Regions from separate parts of the Homo sapiens genome. Here region 2 is linked to region 1. The links are contacts of gene promoters, found by promoter capture Hi-C in human tissues and cell types (Jung and others, 2019). All regions are on one chromosome and are shown on one strand. The core of a region is centred on a gene start or on the middle of the fragment in contact, and the rest is flanking DNA. Distances in the headings are between cores, read along the strand shown. Region 1 has its middle 5.4 kb from the start of CCDC43. Region 2 holds the start of HIGD1B (HIG1 hypoxia inducible domain family member 1B).

Region 1 (4,649 bases), core at 671-3,170:
CGGGAGTTCGAGACCAGCCTGGCCAACTGGTGAAACCCCATCTCTACTAAAAAAATACAAAAAAATGGCCCTGCGCGGTGGCTCACACCTGTAATCCCAGCACTTTGGGAGGCCGAGGCGGGCAGATCACGAGGTCAGGAGATCGAGACCATCCTGGATAATAGGTGAAACCCCGTCTCTACTAAAAATACAAAAAAAAATTAACTGGGTGTGGTTGCGGGCGCCTATAGTCCCAGCTACTAGGGAGGCTGAAGCAGGAGAATGGCGCGAATCCGGGAGGCAGAGCTTGCAGTGAGCCGAGATCTGACCACTGCTCTCCAGCCTGGGCAACAGAGTGAGACTCCATCTCAAAAAAAAACAAAAAAAACAAAAAAATTAGCCAGCTATGGTGGTAGGCGCATGTAATCCCAGTTACTTGGGAGGCTGAGGCAGGAGAATTGCTTGAAACCAGGAGGCGGAGGTTACAGTGAGCTGAGATTACGCCATTGTACTCCAACCTGGGCAACAAGGGCAAAACTCTGTCTCAACAAAAAAAAAGAAAAAATTATATAAATGGATAAGCGACAAATTGAAAGCTTACAAAAAATAAAATACGCAAATTAAGATTGCAGTGAAATACCACGTCCGCTTTTCAGATCAAAAAAGTCTGATAATATGCTGTATTGAACTGTGCTTGGGTAAAAGACATTGGAAAATGTTAGAGCAGAAAGTAAATGGATCTGGTCTTGTTGGAGGACTGTTTGTTTGAAAAGACCCAGCATTTCTGCTTCTGGGAATTTGTTCATAAGTTATTCATTTATTTTTATCTTTACTTGTGGTAAAATACACAATTTGCCATCTTAACTATTTTTAAGTATACGATTTAATAGTGTTAAGTATTAATTATTTTTAAAATTTTTGGTTTAAACTGGGCGTGGTGCCTGTTTAAACTGGGCGTGGTTTAAACTGGGCGTGGTTGGCTGGGCGCGGTGGCTCACGCCTGTAATCCCCGCACTTAGGGAGGCCAAGGTGGGTGGATCACTGAGGTCAGGAGTTCAAGACCAGTCTAGCCAACATGGCAAAACCCTGTCTCTACTAAAAATATAAAAATTAGCCAGGTGTGGTAATGCATGCCTATAGTCCCAGCTACTTGGCCACTTGAGAAGCTGAGGCAGGAGATTCACTCGAATTCGGGACACGGAGGTTGCAGTGAGTTGAGATAATGCCACTGCATTCCAGCCTGGGCAACAGAGTGAGACTCTGTCTCAAAAAAAGAAAAAAATTTTGATTTAATATTTTGTATAATGGCCAGGCACACTGGCTTACACCTGTAATCCCAGTACTTTGGGAGGCTGACAAGGGAGGATTGCTTGAGGCCAGGAGTTCGAGACTAACCTGGTCAACATAATGAGACCCCAGCTCTACAAAAAAAAAAAGTGGTGGTGCATGTCTTTTGTCCTACCTACTCAGGAGGTTGAGGCAAGAGGATCACTTGAGCCCAGGAGCTCAAATTTACATGAGCTATGATGATGCCACTGCATTCTAGCCTGAACAACAGAACAAAACTCTGTCTTTAAAAAATAAAACTGTGCATTTGTGTAGAATCACATTTTTCTAAGGATATTCATTGTAGTGAAGCTTTTTGTAGTAAAAGAATAGTCTACATTTTATGTATATGAGACTGGTTCAAAAACTCTGGTAGCCACACAAAGAAGTATTGCACAGCTGTAAAAAAAAAAAAAAAAATGAACAAAGAGGCCGGGCGCGGTGGCTGGTGCCTGTAGTCCCAGCACTTTGGGAGGCCAAAGCAGGTGGATCACCTGAGGTCAAGAGTTCGAGACCAGCCTGGCCAACTAAAAATACAAAAATTAGCTGGGCATGGTGGTAAGCACCTGTAATCCCAGCTACTCGGGAGGCTGAGGCAGGAGAATCGCTTGAATCCAGGAGGCAGAGGTTGCAGTGAGAGGAGATCATGCCATTGCTCTCCAGCCTGGGCTACAGAGCAAGACTCCGTCTCGAAAAAAAAAAAAAAAAAAGAACAAAGAAGCTCTTTATGCACTGACATGTATCAAAGTTCGAGATACATTGTTTAAAAAGTACAGATCAACAATATGTAATGCTTGCCACCATCACTATTTAAAAAGAAGTTAGGGTAGGGGAATACATGTACATATGTGTCCTTGTATGTGCATAGGCTATCTCTGGAAAGATACACCAGGGATATGTGAGAATGGTTGTCCACTGAGGAGGAGAACTGAAGGAGACTGGTTTTGAACTGTTATATTTATTTACTTTGTATCTTTTTGTAAAAGAAAGCAAATTTGAAGCCCTTTCTCCAACCTCATTTTCTCCCCTCTCTCCCCAGATGTAACCACTATTCCTGAATTTGGTGTTTATTTTCTTCTTGAATGTTTTTAAACATAGTACACATTGCTACATATATAATACATATTACAACATATGGATGTATCCATAATATATCACATTGGTGTGCATGCTGTACTTTTCATTCTGCAATGTGCTTTTTCACTCAAGGTTGTTTAAAATATTTACCCATGTTGGGCCGGGCGCAGTCGCTCATGCCTGTAATCCCAGCACTTTGGGAGGCCTAGGCGGGTGGATCAGCTGAGGTCAAGAGTTTGAGACAAGCCTCACCAACATGGTGAAACCCCATCTCTACTAAAGCTACAAAAATTAACTGGGCGTGGTCACGCACGCCTGTAATCCCAGCTACTTAGGAGGCTGAGGCAGGAGAATAGCTTGAACCTGGGAGGCGGAGGTTGCAGTGAGCCAAGACTGCGCCACTGCACTCCAGCCTAGGTGACAGAGCAAGACCCTGTCTCAAAAAATATATACGTGTATATGGCCGGGCACGGTGGCTCATGCCTGTAATCCCAGCACTTTGGGAGGCCAAGGCGGGCGGATCACCTGAGGTCAGGGGTTCGGGACAAGCCTGACCAACATGGAGAAACCCCATCTCTACTAAAAATGCAAAATTAGCCAGGTTTGGTGGCACATGCCTGTAATCCCAGCTACTTGGGAGGCTGAGACAGGAGAATCGCTTGAACCCGGGAGGCGGAGGTTGCGGTTAGCCGAGATCGCGCCATTGCACTCCAGCCTGGGCAACAAAAGCGAAACCCCATCTCAAAAAAAAAAAGAAAAAAATATATATAATATATATGTATCTATATATATTTTATATATATCTTTACCCATGTTGATATATGTAGCTCTTATCCATCCATTTAAATCACTGCATAGTATTCCGTTGCTTTAATATGCTCCAGCTGATCCATTCCTCTGCCGATGGATGGTGAGGTTAGTTCCTAGTTTTCCAGTCAGTGCACCAGTTCACATTCTTAGGTGGTCCCCTTGCCCACCATGGGAAAGTTCCTCTAGATCAGTGAGCATCAGACATTTTTGCCACATACTCTTAGCAGTAAAAATATTCTCAGCATGTACACCTAATGCACTAATATGTAGTTATTTATGAATTATTTGTGTGAACTGCTATATCAAATTAGTATGTCCATCATAAAACATACAAAAAGAGAACTACAAAAAGGAGAAAATCGTTAAAAAATGAAGTAGGCCGGGCGTGATGGCTCACACCTGTAATCCCAACACTTTGAGAGGCCGAGGTGGGTGGATCACTTGAGGTCAGGGGTTCAAGACCAGCCTGGCCAACATGGTGAAACCGGGTCTGTACTAAAAATACAAAAATTAGCCGAGCAATGGTGGTGGGCATCTGTAATCCCAGCTACTCGGGAGTCTGAGGCAAAAGAATCGCTTGAACCCGGGGAGCGGAGGTTGCAGTGAGCCAAGATTGAACCACTGCACTCCAGGCCTAGGCGACAGAGCAAGACTCCGTCTGAAAAAAAAAAAAAAAGAAAGAAGTACATAATATAAATATTTATTATTTGTAGTATACCAAAAGTCCTTAGTAAAAATAATGTAGTTGAAGATGTTTCATTACCACCCCCACTTCTTTATTTATTTTTATTTTTAATTGTGGTAAAATATGTAATTTGGCATTTTAATCTTTTTTTTTTTTTTTTTTTTTGGTAGAGACAGGATTTCACCATGTTGACCAGGCTGATCTCGATCTCCTGGCCTCAAGCAATCCGTCCACCTCAGCCCCCCAAAGTGCTGGGATTACAGGCATAAGAGATTGCACCCGGACCCATCTTTTTTTTTTTTTTTTTTTTTTGAGACGGAGTCTTACTCTGTCGCCCAGGCTGGAGTGCAGTGGCGTGATCTCGGCTCACTGCAAGCTCCGCCTCCCAGGTTCACGCCATTCTCCTGCCTCAGCCTCCGGAGTAACTGGGACTACAGGCGCCCGCCACCGCGCCCGGCTAATTTTTTTTTTTGTATTTTTAGTAGAGACGGGGTTTCATCGTGTTAGCCAGGATGGTCTCGATCTCCTGACCTCATGATCCGCCCGCCTCGGCCTCCCAAAGTGCTGGGATTACAGGCGTGAGCCACCGCGCCCAGCCAACCCGGACCCATCTTAACATCCAACTATATACCAATTTATCCACCTCGGACCCCCAAACTGCTGGGATTACAGGCATAAGGGACTGCACCCGGCCCCATCTTAACCCTTTTTAAGTTTACCGTTTAGTAGTGTTAAGTATTCATTACCTTTTTTTTGAGACGGAGTTTTGCTC
Region 2 (4,581 bases), core at 734-3,233, 150 kb after region 1:
CAGCCTAGGTGACAGAGCAAGACTCCATCTCGGAAAAAAAAAAAAATCCCAAACCAAAAGACAGCCTAGAGAGTCTGTCTCTCACAACTAGGGTATTTTATTTACATCCCACATTGTTCATAAGAGTATCCGAGGGAGTGTAACTTGGGGGACCCAGGCTTTCTACTCATCCTTGTTCCTGTATCTCCATCTCCGTTCTCCTCATCAAGCCTGTCTCTGATCCAGCCACTTAATTCCATGGGAATTAAAAGACTGAATCTAGTTAGGGGCTCCCCTCCATTTGGTCTTTCCTTACTTTCCAGTGCCTGGAGCTTTGGCTTGGGACTCAGCAGACTGGGGGTTAAGACCGATCCCCTGTCCTTTCCCCTCCCCTCTCCATCCCTGACTTCAAAGTTTTCATAAAGCCCAAGTCACTGCTTCCCTGACCCCATAGTGGCAGCTCCATCTCAGCTTTTGGTCGGTTCAAAACAGCAGACGCTGAGCCCTGGCCTGGCCGCCCGTTCTCCTCGTTCTAGCCATCTCTTAGGGTAAGCACCAGCATGCCAACGACCTGGGGGGCCACCAGTCCTTGCTCCTCCAGGAGAGGAGGGCTAACTAGGATAGAAGCTGACTCAAGGGCAGGCACAGTGGTTCATGCCTGTAATCCCAGAACTTTGGGAGGCTGAGGTGGGCAGATCGCCTGAGACCAGGAGTTCAAGATTGGCTGGGCGACATGGCAAAACTGTCTCTACAAAAAATACAAAAATTAGCTGAGCGTGGTAGCATGCACCTGTAGTCCCAGCTACTTGAGAGGCTGAGGTGGAAGGACTGCTTGAGTCTGGAGGGTCAAGCTTGCAGGGATTGACACTGCACTCCAGCCTGAGTGACAAAGTGAGACCCTGCCTAAAAAAAAAAAAAAAGAAGAAAAAGAAAAGAGAGTTTGCCGTATGGTTAGGCTTAGAAGGTATCCCATTGGACAGGGCACGGTGGCTCATACCTGTAATCCCTGCACTTTGGGAAGCCGAGGTGGGCGGATCAAGAGGTCAGGAGTTCAAGACCAGCCTGGCTATCAGGGTAAGACCCCGTCTCTACTAAAAAAATACAAAAAATTAGCTGGGCATGGTACACACCTGTAATCCCAGCTACTTGGGAGGCTGAGGCAGAATTGCTTCAACCAGGACCTGGGAGGCGGAGGTTGCAGTGAGCCGAGATGGCACCACTGCACTCCAGCCTGGGCTACAGAGCGAAACTCCGTCTCAAAAAAACAAAAAAGGGCCGGGCGCGGTGGCTCACGCCTGTAATCCCAGCACTTTGGGAGGCCGAGGCAGGTGGATCATGAGGTCAGGAGATCGAGACCATCCTGGCTAACAAGGTGAAACCCCGTCTCTACTAAAAATACAAAAAATTAGCCGGGCGCGGTGGCGGGCGCCTGTAGTCCCAGCTACTCGGGAGGCTGAGGCAGGAGAATGGCGTGAACCCGGGAAGCGGAGCTTGCAGTGAGCCGAGATTGCGCCACTGCAGTCCGCAGTCCGGCCTGGGCGACAGAGCGAGACTCCGTCTCAAAAAGAAGGCATCCCATTGGCAGAACCCTTGTTTCCAGCCCAGGGATGAAGGTAGCCAGTTGGTAATTGTGAAGAACCTGCCTGGAAAGAGATGGACCTGGAAAAACAGGAGCAGCTCAGGAACCAGAATGTGTTCCTTAGTACTCATGTGCAAAATATATGCTAAATTACATGCAAATCAATGTCCAATCATTATAATCTCTGGCAATTTGGTAACTAATGCTGTTACACTATCTGGTCTAGGACATTTCTGGCTCCCTGGGGCCAGATCCTGCTCTGTAGCTCCCACAGGAGAAACCATCACAGACCAAAGGCCAGCGGGGGCCCCAGCACTCAAGGACTGTTTCTCCCACCACCATCTGTGGACTTTTCCAGCTGTTTTTCTTGGCCCAAGGATCACACCCATAGGGATGCAGATGGGGGAAGGGGAAGCTGAGAAAGCAGTGAAGACAGAATGAGCTGGGGAAGAGGCAGATGGTAGGAAATGGAGACGGAGAAATGGCACTAATGGCCCAGCCACCTGAGATGGGATACCTGGGAGGGACATCTTTTCAAGTAGAGGCTGTGTTGGGGCATGGTGAGAGAGGGTCTTAGCAGGTAACCTTCCTTTCCTCTCCAGACTGAGGAATCAGAGTTCTGATTGTGGAGTGCCTCTCTCTAGGACGGGGCTGCAGCATAGGAGTCTCAGCTGCTTACATCCAGGTCCAGGATTATGTCTGCTAACAGACGCTGGTGGGTACCACCTGACGACGAAGACTGTGTGTCTGAGAAGCTCCTGAGGAAGACTCGGGAATCTCCACTGGTGCCTATAGGTAAGTGAAGAAAGGAATGGGGTGCCGAGTAGGAGGCCTTCTCTGTCATGTCTCCTGGTACCCTCCAAAGAGAATGAAGCAGAGGTCAGAAAACTCAAGTGGTCCTACTCACGGAACAAGGGAAACAACAGCAAAGGTGCCAAGGGGCAAACCCTTACAATGAAATCAGGACGTCTGGATGGGTGGAGGTGGCAGCCAACTGAGTACATGGGATATGAGGAACCTGGAGCACCAACACCAAAGTGGGAAGGGTCAGAAGAACACCTTGGGGTCCCCCAGGGCTTCCTTCCTTATGGCCCTGGTAGAGTAGGAAAACAGCTGTACCAGGAGGTGGGAGCCAGCAGTGTGGCTCAAGGGCCCAGGGCGGAGCAAATTGGTGGGGAGGGGCTGTGTCGTGGTGATCAGCTATTTGTATCTGGGGGAGGGGCATCACTGGTGGTGATCAGCTATTTGTATATGGGGGAGGGGTGTCACGGGAGGGAGGCAGCCACTTTGAAAATGCCATTGAAGGGCAACAACTCAATATATATATATATATTTTTGAGATGGAGTTTCACTCGTTGCCCAGGCTGGAGTGCAATGGCACAGTCTCGGTTCACCACAACCCCTGCCTCCTGGGTTCAAGTGGTTCTCCTGCATCAGCCTCCTGAGTAGTTGGGATTATAGGCATGCACCACCACGCCCGGCTAATTTTGTACTTTTAGTAGAGACTGGGTTTCTCCATTTTGGTCAGGCTGGTCTCAAACTCCCAACTTCAGGTGATCCACCTGCCTCAGTCTCCCAAAAGTGCTGGGATTACAGGCGTGAGCCACCATGCCCCGGCAACAACTCAATATTCTAATGATCCCCCTAGGTCCCCCGCAACGCCCACCCCCCGCCACCAGATGCTGCATAAAACCAGCTGTTTATCCAGATGCCCAGCCTGCCTGGTAAGGTATCTCTCATCAGGGGAGTGCTGTGCATTGTGGCTGTGGCCCAGGGGCTGTGTTCTCTGCCCACAGGCTTAGGAGGCTGCTTGGTGGTAGCAGCATACAGGATTTACCGGCTGAGGTCTCGTGGTTCCACCAAGATGTCCATACACCTGATTCACACCCGAGTGGCAGCGCAGGCCTGTGCAGTGGGTGCAATCATGCTAGGTGAGTAGCTTTGTGGGGTCGCAGAATGAGGGCAAAACCGATTATGCAGTTTGTAGGTCTTTAAGTCCCAACAATTAAAAGGACTGTGCTTGGCTGGGCGCGGTGGTTCACGCCTGTAATCTCAACACTTTGGGAGGCCAAGGCGGGCAGATCATGAGGTCTGGAGAGAGAGACCATCCTGGCCAACATGGTGAAACCCCATATCTACTAAAAATACAAAAATTAGCTGGGCGTGGCGGCAGGTGCCTTTAGTCCCAGCTACTCTGGAGGCTTCGGCAGGAGAATTGCTTGAACCTGGGAGGCGGAGGCTACAGTGGGCTGAGATCCGCCACTGCACTCCAGCCCGGGTGACAGAGTGAGACTCTGTCTCAAAAAAAAAAAAAAAAAAAAAAAAGGACTGTGAATTAAGTTCTCCTGTTCTGGGCTCCACATCACATGCTTGGTGAAGCCCCTATACTGAGCCATCTTCCCTGTTTAGGCTCCTGTCCCAGGCCTGTGGGGACAGTGTCTCATGACAGTTTGCCCTAGGGGTGAGAAAAATCATGCAACAGAACAGATGTTGAATTTCTCTTCCTCTTGAGATTAAAAAGCAGACAGCCACTTGCTAACTGTGTGACAGTGGACAAATCTTTCTCACTGAGCCTCAGTTTCCTGATGTGTAACATGACAATAACCACCCCTGGCCTGCCTACCTTGCAGGCTGCTGTGAGGTTTCTCAGATACACAATACATGTGAAAGTGTTTCGTGAACTGTCAGATAAGTGGTTTCCCCAGGTTGTGTGGTCAGATGCTTGAAGCAGCTGTTGGGACCTGGGGCAGAAAGATGAGCGGGAAGCTGGACTCTCAAGGGAGCAGCTAGAGGTGAACCCCTAGGACGCCTGAGAGCCAGAGGACGGGTGAAGGGTTTGATGCCAAGGGGCATTATTTCTTTTCTCTCACACAGGTGCTGTGTACACAATGTACAGCGATTACGTCAAGAGGATGGCACAGGATGCTGGAGAGAAGTAGGACTCCTATAGGAGCCGGGGCTGTCCAACTCCCCTAACTCAATCCCTGGTACATTCCTAATAAAGCAGTTTTGAGGAAAATCAA

Evidence for each region. Contacts are between HindIII fragments. The study calls those that stand out against the background at their distance.
Region 2: the fragment with the promoter of HIGD1B here is called in contact with a fragment that was not itself captured in region 1 in 1 of the 25 tissues and cell types used here (aorta).

The regions. Positions count from the first base shown.
Region 1 is chr17:44,692,813-44,697,461 of GRCh38, forward strand. No RefSeq gene overlaps it. Among named protein-coding and RNA genes, the nearest start is that of CCDC43, 5.4 kb to the left of the region's middle. The HindIII fragment of the contact is 6,435 bases long and covers 1-4,649 here.
Region 2 is chr17:44,845,900-44,850,480 of GRCh38, forward strand. HIGD1B (HIG1 hypoxia inducible domain family member 1B) reads left to right here and starts at 1,984. Exons shown (of 3, transcript NM_016438.4): 1 at 1,984-2,353; 2 at 3,355-3,489; 3 at 4,433-4,577. The coding sequence starts at 2,254. The coding sequence ends at 4,497. EFTUD2 (elongation factor Tu GTP binding domain containing 2) reads right to left here. Exons shown (of 28, transcript NM_004247.4): 28 at 4,049-4,581. The HindIII fragment of the contact is 5,766 bases long and covers 1-3,718 here.